2 separate regions of the Homo sapiens genome follow, and region 1 is linked to region 2. The links are contacts of gene promoters, found by promoter capture Hi-C in blood cells and fetal thymus (Javierre and others, 2016). All regions are on one chromosome and are shown on one strand. The core of a region is centred on a gene start or on the middle of the fragment in contact, and the rest is flanking DNA. Distances in the headings are between cores, read along the strand shown.

Evidence for each region. The method cuts DNA at HindIII sites, captures the fragments that hold promoters and counts their contacts. A CHiCAGO score of 5 or more calls a contact.
Region 1: a contact is called between a fragment that was not itself captured here and the fragment with the promoter of ENTPD7 in region 2, in 1 of 17 cell types (total CD8 T cells). The highest score is 5.4, in total CD8 T cells.

What each region holds. Positions count from the first base shown.
Region 1 is chr10:99,392,824-99,397,732 of GRCh38, forward strand. It overlaps CNNM1 (cyclin and CBS domain divalent metal cation transport mediator 1), which reads left to right. Exons shown (of 11, transcript NM_020348.3): 11 at 1-1,507. GOT1 (glutamic-oxaloacetic transaminase 1) reads right to left here. Exons shown (of 9, transcript NM_002079.3): 9 at 4,047-4,863. The coding sequence ends at 4,724. Among named protein-coding and RNA genes, the nearest start is that of GOT1, 35 kb to the right of the region's middle. The HindIII fragment of the contact is 3,598 bases long and covers 640-4,237 here.
Region 2 is chr10:99,656,967-99,661,623 of GRCh38, forward strand. It overlaps ENTPD7 (ectonucleoside triphosphate diphosphohydrolase 7), which reads left to right and starts at 2,543. Exons shown (of 13, transcript NM_020354.5): 1 at 2,543-2,622; 2 at 2,896-2,998; 3 at 4,480-4,657. The coding sequence starts at 2,991. It also overlaps a transcript of SLC25A28 not described here. RefSeq lists silencers at 2,222-2,431, 2,552-2,771. The HindIII fragment of the contact is 2,116 bases long and covers 1,315-3,430 here.

The DNA of each region.
Region 1 (4,909 bases), core at 1,189-3,688, 260 kb before region 2:
CTCCTGGGCATGTAGTCCCAGCTACTCGGGAGGCTGAGGCAGGAGAATCGCTTGAACCTGGGAGGCAGAGGTTGCAGTGAGCTGAGATCACACCACTGCACTTCATCCTAGGCAACAGAGCGAGACTCTGTCTCCCCCCGCAAAAAAAAAAAAGAAAGAAAGAAAGAGAAAAGAAAAGAAAAGCAACCACAGCCAGCCTTAGGGAAAACTTGGAAGTAAGTGAAATTTGTCTTCAGAATAACTATCTCCCTTTCTGATCTGTCTCCTACTCTTTAGATGTTCTCAGTCAAGTACTCACTGAACTCATTGATCGAGTGCTGTCTGCTAAATCTCCAAACCATTCCCAAACCTTTCCCCGTAGTATACCATCCAGCTTCCCTCCCCTTCCTCCAAAACCCTCCCTCCCACCTCCCCACACCCATTGAGTCATTCACAGGCAGGAGGGAGACTGATCATTCCTCTGGGTTATCTGCATCTCAAAAGAAAATGCTTACCCACAGGAACTGTTAACTCAGGGGTTCTTAACTTGGGGTCCATCACCCCAGGGGGTCCATAGTTGGACTTCAGAGGGTCTATGAAACCCCTAAAACTGTCAGTATTTAATGTATTTATTCTTGTATGTTTTTTCCAGAGCATTAAAGCTTTCATAAGGTTCTCAAAGGTCTCAGACCTACAAAGAGTTAAAACAAACAGACAAACAAAAAAAAACACTACTATTTTAAATAGTGGAACTTTCAGCCCAGCGTTTCTGCAATGCAGAGTGAAGTGGATACTGGGCAGTTCGAGACAGGTTTTTAATCATAAGTGGTCTTTTCAAATGTCCATCAATTGATGGGGAAGGCTGGCACCCACCAAGAAGTGGAAGTCCTCAGAAATTCTCGGCACACCCTAGAGTATTGTACAACCAACACCCCCACATAACTTTGTCCCCTCTTCCCCAACAACCCAGAGCAGGTGTTGCAGACAGGAGGGCCACAGCGTGTGGAAGTAAAGACTTTGGAGCTAGAGAAGCCTTTTCCAGCAATGATTATTGACTTCACCACACCCCTTGCCTGGCCTGGCCTGAGGCTCAGCAGTGCATGACTTCTCGTAGATAACTTCACAGTCATCCAGTCCCAACACCTGCTCTTGCCTGGTAGGAACAGGCGAAGTGTCAGCCCTCAATGTTGGGTACTTAGACCCAAACCAATAAATGGTGAGTTTTGAACAAGAACTACCATCATGCAGGCTTCTTGCCCAGCTGACCACTGGCCCCGGGGTGCCTGCCTGGCTGGTCTTCATCACCTGAGGCCACCAGGCTCAAGCCACTGCTGTTGCATTACACCCATCCCTTTGCAAAATCCCTATGGAGCCTGTCACCACTCCCCTCCCTATATACCCCCACCCCACAAAGATTTTCTTCAGGTTAAAAAAAAAGTTTAAAAAAAAGATTTTAAAATAAAGCATTTATGAAGGCTTAATAAATTGTAAATAATTTTTAAATAAAATGAAAATGCCTTTCCTGGAATGTGGCTGTTTTCCTTGCCCCTGGAATCTTCTGACGTGGCTTCATTTGAGATGCAGGTTGAGTGATGCCCACGTGTGATGATCTCACCTGTGCACCACCTGCCTGAAGAGGCATGCCGCTCCGGGCCAGGTGTGAGGCTGCGGTGAGGTCACGGGGAAGCCTTGGCACACTACTTTGGGAGGCCAGATGGTAAGATTTTGCAGGAGTGAATGCCAGAAATGAGAAGTAAAACCCAAATGAGAAGCCAGTATGCATAAAGACGAGGAAGGAACTAAGACGACAGTGAGAAGGGCTGGCATTTGCTGAACCCATGTGATGGGTGAGGTGCTGTGCTGGGTGCCGTCCAAATTCAGGGTCTTGGGGGCTAAACCCAGACAAGCCCCTGAGACAGAATGTTGGTCACACTAGCTCGCTTCTGCAGAACCTTCAGAAAGGAGTCCAAGTGGCATGACTCTGGCAGTTTGCAACCAAAGGCTAGGGAACGGAACACAAGAATGGGCCAGGCCTGTTGGTCAGTTTTAAGCCGATGCTGGAGGGAGGGAACAGCCAGGCAGGTGGGAAGATGTGTTTGGGCATATAATACCTGTGTGGAAGGAAGGCTGAAATCTGACACCTACTACTCATTTCTCAAAGCAAACAGGAGGATCAGGGGCCTATGCCAAAACCTCTTAAGATTCTTCTCAGGAACCTCAGTAGAGGCTATTCATTTCACTAACGGTAATAATAAATAATGGAAACAACTATTTTGCCAAGGGCTTTATGTTCCAAGTATTCTGTTAAGTACCCATTAGCTCATTTCTTTCTCAACCACCCTGTGGAGGAGGGGTTACTGTCTGCAAGGTTACTGTCTTCTTGCTCACGGTTACACACCTGGGAACTGGCAGAGCCTGGAGGTTGGAGTGCCCTGCTCTTGAGTGAGCAAAATTGGTGAAACAATCCCACCTCTGAAGTTCACTGGCATGTCAGAGGCCTGAGGAGTCCTGCCGGCTTCCCAAACTCACAGCCCTTTTTCAGGTGAACGCAGTGGGAACCACACCAACCAACATATCTGTCGGAATAGAAGAAGGCCAGATTCCCATTGAGATGGGCTTTTTTCAAGGCTAAAAACATTTGAGCACTTTGGTACTGTCACTTAGATTTAAAGATGTGTTTATCTTTAATGGTTTTGGCAGCCCCCTAAAGAGAAAATTTTAATTTTCCCTAACAAGAGAAATTAAATACTAATAAGATGGTCAGGTAGGATTGCACTTTGGAAGGCAACATTTTAGTATTTCAGGCTTTTTTTTTTTTTGCCCCAGAGAGCCAATTTTCGTCCCCATGGAGGCAGTATCGTCCCCATGGAGAATGAGTGGTTGAAAGCGTTTGGAGAGAATGGCAGATTGACAGAAGGTAGAATCATTCGACTTCTCTGTTGGCTGCCTTCCCTTACTAACAACAAGCATCTTTACATTGGGAGGAGAACAAAGACTGATATGTTCAGAAAGCTGTGAAGAGATGGGTGGGAGGGCATCTAATCACATTCACTCATGAACTTCCACCAGCCCAACCACACACTGGCAGAGTGAGTGTCCTCTGAAGAACTCCTGGGGCTCCAGCCAGACAGGGAAGGATCTGGAAACCACATCCTGTGCAGAAACAAAAGTGGTGGGGGAGAGGCAGTTCATGTGGAAAAGTGTAAACAAGGAATGACAACTGCTACTTTCAAATATTTGAAAGGTGGTAGATTAGAAGTGCCAGTAGATTTACTATCTGTGGTTTAAAGGAAGGAAAGGAGGGGCAGGGGAGTGGAACAAAGATCAAATTCTGGTTCAAGGTAGATGAACTTTTACCGTGAGCAAAAGGTAAATGAGCCTCTTTTTTTTTAATTAAGAGGCCCCACCAGCAGAAGGGGATGCCTCACCAGGTATTTAAAGAATCCATCACCACTACCACCCCACCAGTTGAAATGGATGAGTCAGAGACAATATGGAGAGACTATTTCACTGGCGGAGAGGCAGGACTTGATGACTTCTGAGGCCCCAGTCATCCCTCAGGACTGCAGGATTTTCTAACAACCCAAATGAGTCCTAGAAAGTGGCAGATCCTATTAAAATCACAAGAATTAACTTTAAATACTTAAAAACTCCAATTAATAGACCTCTTGTGTTAAGTAACATCAAACCCCACCAAATTCTACAAAATGGCCATTTGGAGCGGCCCTTGGACTCTGGAAATTGTGATGTATGTTTTTGTGGTTCTGTTTCAATAAACCAGGAGGGACTCTGACAGCAGGGAACGGGCTGATGTTCTATAATCAACCTGAGTGATGTCATCTCCTCTCACAGTCCAAGAAGTCCAGTTTCTTAAGTAACATAAGACAGCTGGCCTCCAAATGACAAGCCCGCAAAATCACCAGGGAGTTATATGGTGAGTTCACTGAAGGAAGCTATACTGTAAGAACACATTGTAGTTTTTCCTTTAGCCACTAGTAAAACCCTCTAAAGCATTCATTTTAAACTGTGGGTCACAACCCATTAGTGGTCATAAAATCAACTCCATGTCTTGATCAACATTTTTATTTTATTTTTTTAGGTGAAGTAGAACACAATAGAATGGCTCAAAAATATCAGAATGCACTACGCACATCACGAGTAAATACTGTTTGGTAAAACTTGTTTCAGTTAAATATGTACGTGTCCGTGCATGTCATGATTAAATATCCTTCTTACCACAGTCACCCTAAAGAACCAAAGCTTAGGACTAGGGACACAACCATGCAGAAAGAGCAGGGAGACCAGACACTCTGGGTTGAGATGATGAATTTAATGCCGCAGCCGACACCCACATTCACACTTTGGCTCCTTCAGACAACTTGATCTTTGGGACTAGAATTTGTACAGAGTCAAACACCACATAGAAGCACGTGGCCGCCACACACAACACTCCTTTTTAGTGAGAGGGACAAGATACCTATGTCTCATGATCAAAGTACTCTTTTATTCTTAAATAAAAATCTTAATTTGCTTTGACCTCCAAAGGCTCTAATCCCAGTCTCCAAATTCGTCTCAAGGGATGTTCTCTTCATGTGGGGCCGGTTTAAACAGAGGCTGCCTCACCAGAGCAGCCTTTCAGTCCTGCAAGTGTCTCTAATCCATGGTATGTACATGTAGGTTTGTGCAGGCAGGGAACACACATGACAGAGAACTACTTTGGTGGTACTGGACGGGTGGTGTTTCTTCACTGGATTTTGGTGACTGCTTCATGGATGGAGGTGGCCACGTAATCTAGATTTTTGGTGGTTAAGCCACTCACGTTGATTCGACCACTTGGCAGCAGGTAGATGTGCTTTTCATTGACCAGATACTCAACCTGCTTGGCTGTTGAAAACCAAAAGAAGACATAATCAGAGCAGAGGGGATCCTT
Region 2 (4,657 bases), core at 1,293-3,792:
GGGCATATGGATTTATTGAAGGAAGTATTGTCCAAACCAGACTGACAAAGAAAGTTTTACAAAGAAAATATAATGAAAAAATGTTGGGATTAAAATGTAGGTCTTTTCTGTTTTATGATGTAGTTATGAAATGTAAATTAGAGGATGTTTCAATGAACTTTTGAATTATAAGTTAATATAGTTCATAAACCATAGGAATTAAGTACTATTTTAAAAATAGGAATTATACTTCCACTCAAAAACACCTATTTTGTGGAACACTAAAGTTTGAAATATATATGTATAGAGATTAGACTTAGAACTCACAGAAGGTAAATTCAAGAAATTTTTAAAAATTACTCCAAAACATTATTTTAGTTCTTTCCATATCTATTTTGTTCTAGGAACTGAACTGGGTTCTGAAATAATAAAAATAACTGGTATCTGTATAATGTTGTGGTTAATCCCAACTTTATGCAACTATTCTATTCAATGTGGTTTCTGGGGGTCCAGATAAAATATAACACTTGAAGCAGAGTGGGGATTGAGGGACAGAGAAAAAAAAACTGAGAACTGAGAATTGAAGAAGAAAGGCAAATTAGGAAGTTCAACAAGGTTAGGAGAGTAGTGGAGCCAAAAAAACAATAGTCATGAGAACTGAATATAGAAACTGGACAATGGCTAGATCTTATATGACAATTAGAACTCTGACCCACAACCTCTACAGCAACCAGCCGAGAATAATCAGGACTTGGTCAATGACTCAGTTTCCCTGTTTTTTGCCGCCTCCTTTCTTCAACTCAGAACCCACTAAAGACAGCCAAATATGCTACCTACCCCAAACCAATCACCTAAGAGACACTACTTTTGTTAGCCCACCTCCAGCTTTCCCATGCTAATACCCTCAAGTCAGAGTATACATGAAACCTTCCCTTTTTGTTCACTACTAAGCTTTCCTGGCCAGGTGCAGCTGCTCATCCCTGTAATCCCAGCACTTTGGGAGGCTGAGACAGGAAGACTGCTTGAGCCCAGGAGTTCAAGACCAGCCTGGACAACATAGTGAGACTCCATCTCTACAAAGAATTAAAAAAAAATAAGCTGGGCATGGTGGCACGTGCCTGTAGAGCCAGCTACTCAGGAGGTTGAGGTGGGAGGATCGCTTGCTCAGGAGGTCGAGGCTGCAGTGAACCACGATCGCACCACTGCACTCCAGCCTGGATGACAACAGAGTGAGACCCTGTAGGTAATTAAGTAAGTAAGTAGTTTTCCTAATGTCCTGACAGGCTTTGAGTCGGCCAAATGCAAGTGATGGTGACTGACTCCCTTGTCATAGTAAGCTTTGAATAAATAAAGCATTTGGGTGGTCTTCCTCCCCGATCCCCCCCATTCATTCATTTGCTTATTAATTATACATTAGTTGTGTTTTATCTGCCAGGCAGTGGCCAGTATTGGGAATATGTGGAAGCAAATAGTCCCTGCCTTCAAGGATATTCTGTCTAGTGGGACAGACAGACAGACATATACGTATAATAGTAATTCAACGTGCTAAGTGAAACAATAGGCATGTATAAAAAAGGTGTAGTAGGTCAAGTAGGGCTTTTAGGGGAAGGCGACCCTTAAGATGGGTGGTAAGGGATGAGTAGGAGGTGATTTGGCTAAGAGGCTGGGACGGTTATTCAAGGCAGGTGGAGGGGCAGAATGAGCAAAACAGGACGCGTTGCTGGAGCGTGGTAAGGAAGGCAAGTAGCGGCAGAGGACGGCGGTAGGGCGGATCGTGGGGCGCAATGGATGTGCCACGTTGGAAAGAGCTTGGACTTTATGCCGTCCTCCTGGAAATGAGATAACGGCTGGTGTAAGCAAGAAAGAAACACACACACACCCACGCGCGCGCGTCGTTTCCTTTGTGTTACTGTAAGGTCAAGGAGGGCGGCGACACAGAAATTCATGATGACTGGCATAAGCAGACATTCAATGAATGAATGAATGGACATAAGCACTTTGGTGTAAACGTCATTGTCTTCGATTTCTGTTTTCTCACGGGGCAAGACAGTGAGGTCGGGGCATCAGTTTGGGAGGTGATAGGGAAGGTTTAAGGTGAGAGAACTGCCATTCTGGTAGGGAGGGTCAGTGGGCACAAAACCAACAATAGGTTATGGGCAAGGGATGCGCTTCGGTCGCGAACACCCTGAACCCACCTACCGGAGCTACTCTGTCCCAGGAGCGGCCGTGGAGAAAGCAACCAGCCGAGAGTTCGCGCCCCAGGGAGGGAAGCGGGCACAGGGCCGCCCAGCGCCACTCACCTGTGAGCTCTCCGCGGGCCCTGCAGGCGGAGCCTCGGTACGACGCCTTTCCGATTGGGCGCGGCTCAAAGTCCCGGGGCGGGCATCAGAGGCCGAGCGCTCTAGGGGATTGGCCACCCTGGCGGACGGACGTGCTGCTGACCGAGCTGGTTCGCCCCCGGTTCGGCTCGTGGAGAGCCGGCCCCTCCGTGAGTCTTCTGTCAGTCATTGGCTCCCTGCGGTTTCCTTGGGGACGTGGCGCCGCCGCCGGCCGGGCCCTCCTTCCGGCTGGGCAAGGGGCCGCGGGGAGCAGCTCGGGACTGAACCGAGAGGTGCCGAAGGAACCGGCGGGCCGCTTGATCCCGTGAGTGTGGGCGCGAGAGGGCTGTGGGACCCGGAGGGACGGGGAGAGGAAGCGGGACCCACACCCCGCCACCTGGGGACGACCGGTTCCTAGAGGACAGAGCTGGCCCACGAGAACGCCCCGCTCCCAGGATGCCCGGGTAGGGTCCCCTGGGCCTGAGGAACCAGAGCAGACGGAGCGGGAGCCTGGGGAGGAGGTGGGAGCCGTGGAATTCCCGTGCAGGTTTGTCTCGTGGGCTCAGTCGGACAGAAGCCTGAAATCAAATCTTTCTAGGCTGCAGACGTAGGAGATGCCTGGGACAAGGAGGCCACCTTCTCAGGGCAAAAGAAAAAGAAGGTGACAGGCGTTGAGACCACCGAAGGGAACCCATGGCTAGGTAAGGCTGCACACTTTCCCTCCGGCTGGGAGCACGGCAGAGGATGGCAGGCAGGTTGGGGGGCCCTGGGAGGCTGTCCCAAGTGAGGTTTGCCCTGGAGCTGCACTTGGACTTTGTATTCTGGTTAGTTGGATGCAGAGACGATCAAAGTTGTATTATTTCGAGGGCTGATAAATAATAGTTTCTAGCCCATAGACCAGGAGTGGTAGAGTGAGTCGGCTTGCTCAGCTCTGTAAAGTGCAAGGTTGTAACATTGATTCAGATTCGCATCTGAGCAAGGCTAGGTGCCACTTGAGGAGGTTAAACAAAGAAGTTTTTTTGTTTTTTGTTTGCAGTGAACTTTAAAAGCAGACAGACCGAGGTCCTTTTGAATCAATATACAAAGTGAACTTCACAGATGAATACACTTATCCATACATTATAATAACCTGAAGCTTTTAAAAAATATTAATGTGGATCTACATGCACCAATAAGGGAAAGTTATAAAATAAAGTGGGGGAAAGATGCAGAACAGCAGGTATGGTGGACTACCATTTGTGTAAAACCGAGGGAATGGATACGCACACACACACACACACACACACACACACACACACAGAGATATATTACTGTAAATATATTGGTGTATATTTATGCTTGTGTATCCGTAGAATATCCCTGGAAAGATACACAGCAACGGCCAGGTGCAGTAGCTCACGCCTGTAATCCCAGCACTTTGGGAGGCCAAGGCAGGCAGATCACCTGAGGTCAGGAGTTCAGGACCAGCCTGGCCAAGTAGAAACCCGGTCTCTACTAAAAATACGAAAATTAGCCGGGTGTGGTGGCAGTCACCTGTAATCCCAGCTACTGGGGAGGCTGAGGGAGAAGAATCGCTTGAACCCAGGAGGTGGAGGTTGCAGTGAGCTGAGATTGCGCTACTACACTCCAGCCTGGGCAACAGAGCAAGACTCCATCTCAAAAAAAAAAAAAATTACACAGCAACTGGGTAGTAATGTTTGCCTCTGAGAGATTGTGGGGTCAGGGCAAGAATCACTTTTCACTATACAATATATCCTTTTAAACTGATTTGTCTTTTACTATGTGCTTGTATAATCTGGTAAAACATTTTTAAAATCAGTTAAATAAATTTTCTGACCATCCTGTTTCTTGACAGAATTCTTGGTTGGGAATACTGTAGTTGCTCTGATTCTCCAATGTTATGAGGTTGCCCAGGGAGACTGGTGATCTTTTCACTAACATGAGATTAAGTCTTTGAATTGCACTCAAAGTGCAGTTTGGAAAAAGGGCAGATAAGGCTTTTCTGATATATATAGTAGAAGCACCATGAGCTTCTTCTAAAATTAGAGATGACAAGAACATTTAGACTTCTGTTGGCATGGATTTTTGCCTTTATTAGGAGGGTTTTATCCAATTTTAAAACGATATTTAAGCACTCAGTTGTAGAAATGTTTCAGACTTACTAATGTTTGTCTAATTTCAGGATCAGTTTTTCCTACCTCTGCCCAGCCTCCTGGTACTTCACTGTGCCCACAGTGAGTCCATTTCTCCGTCAGCGGGTGGCATTCCTGGGACTCTTCTTCATATCCTGTCTCCTTTTACTTATGTTAATCATAGACTTTCGACATTGGAGTGCTTCATTACCACGAGATAGGCAATAC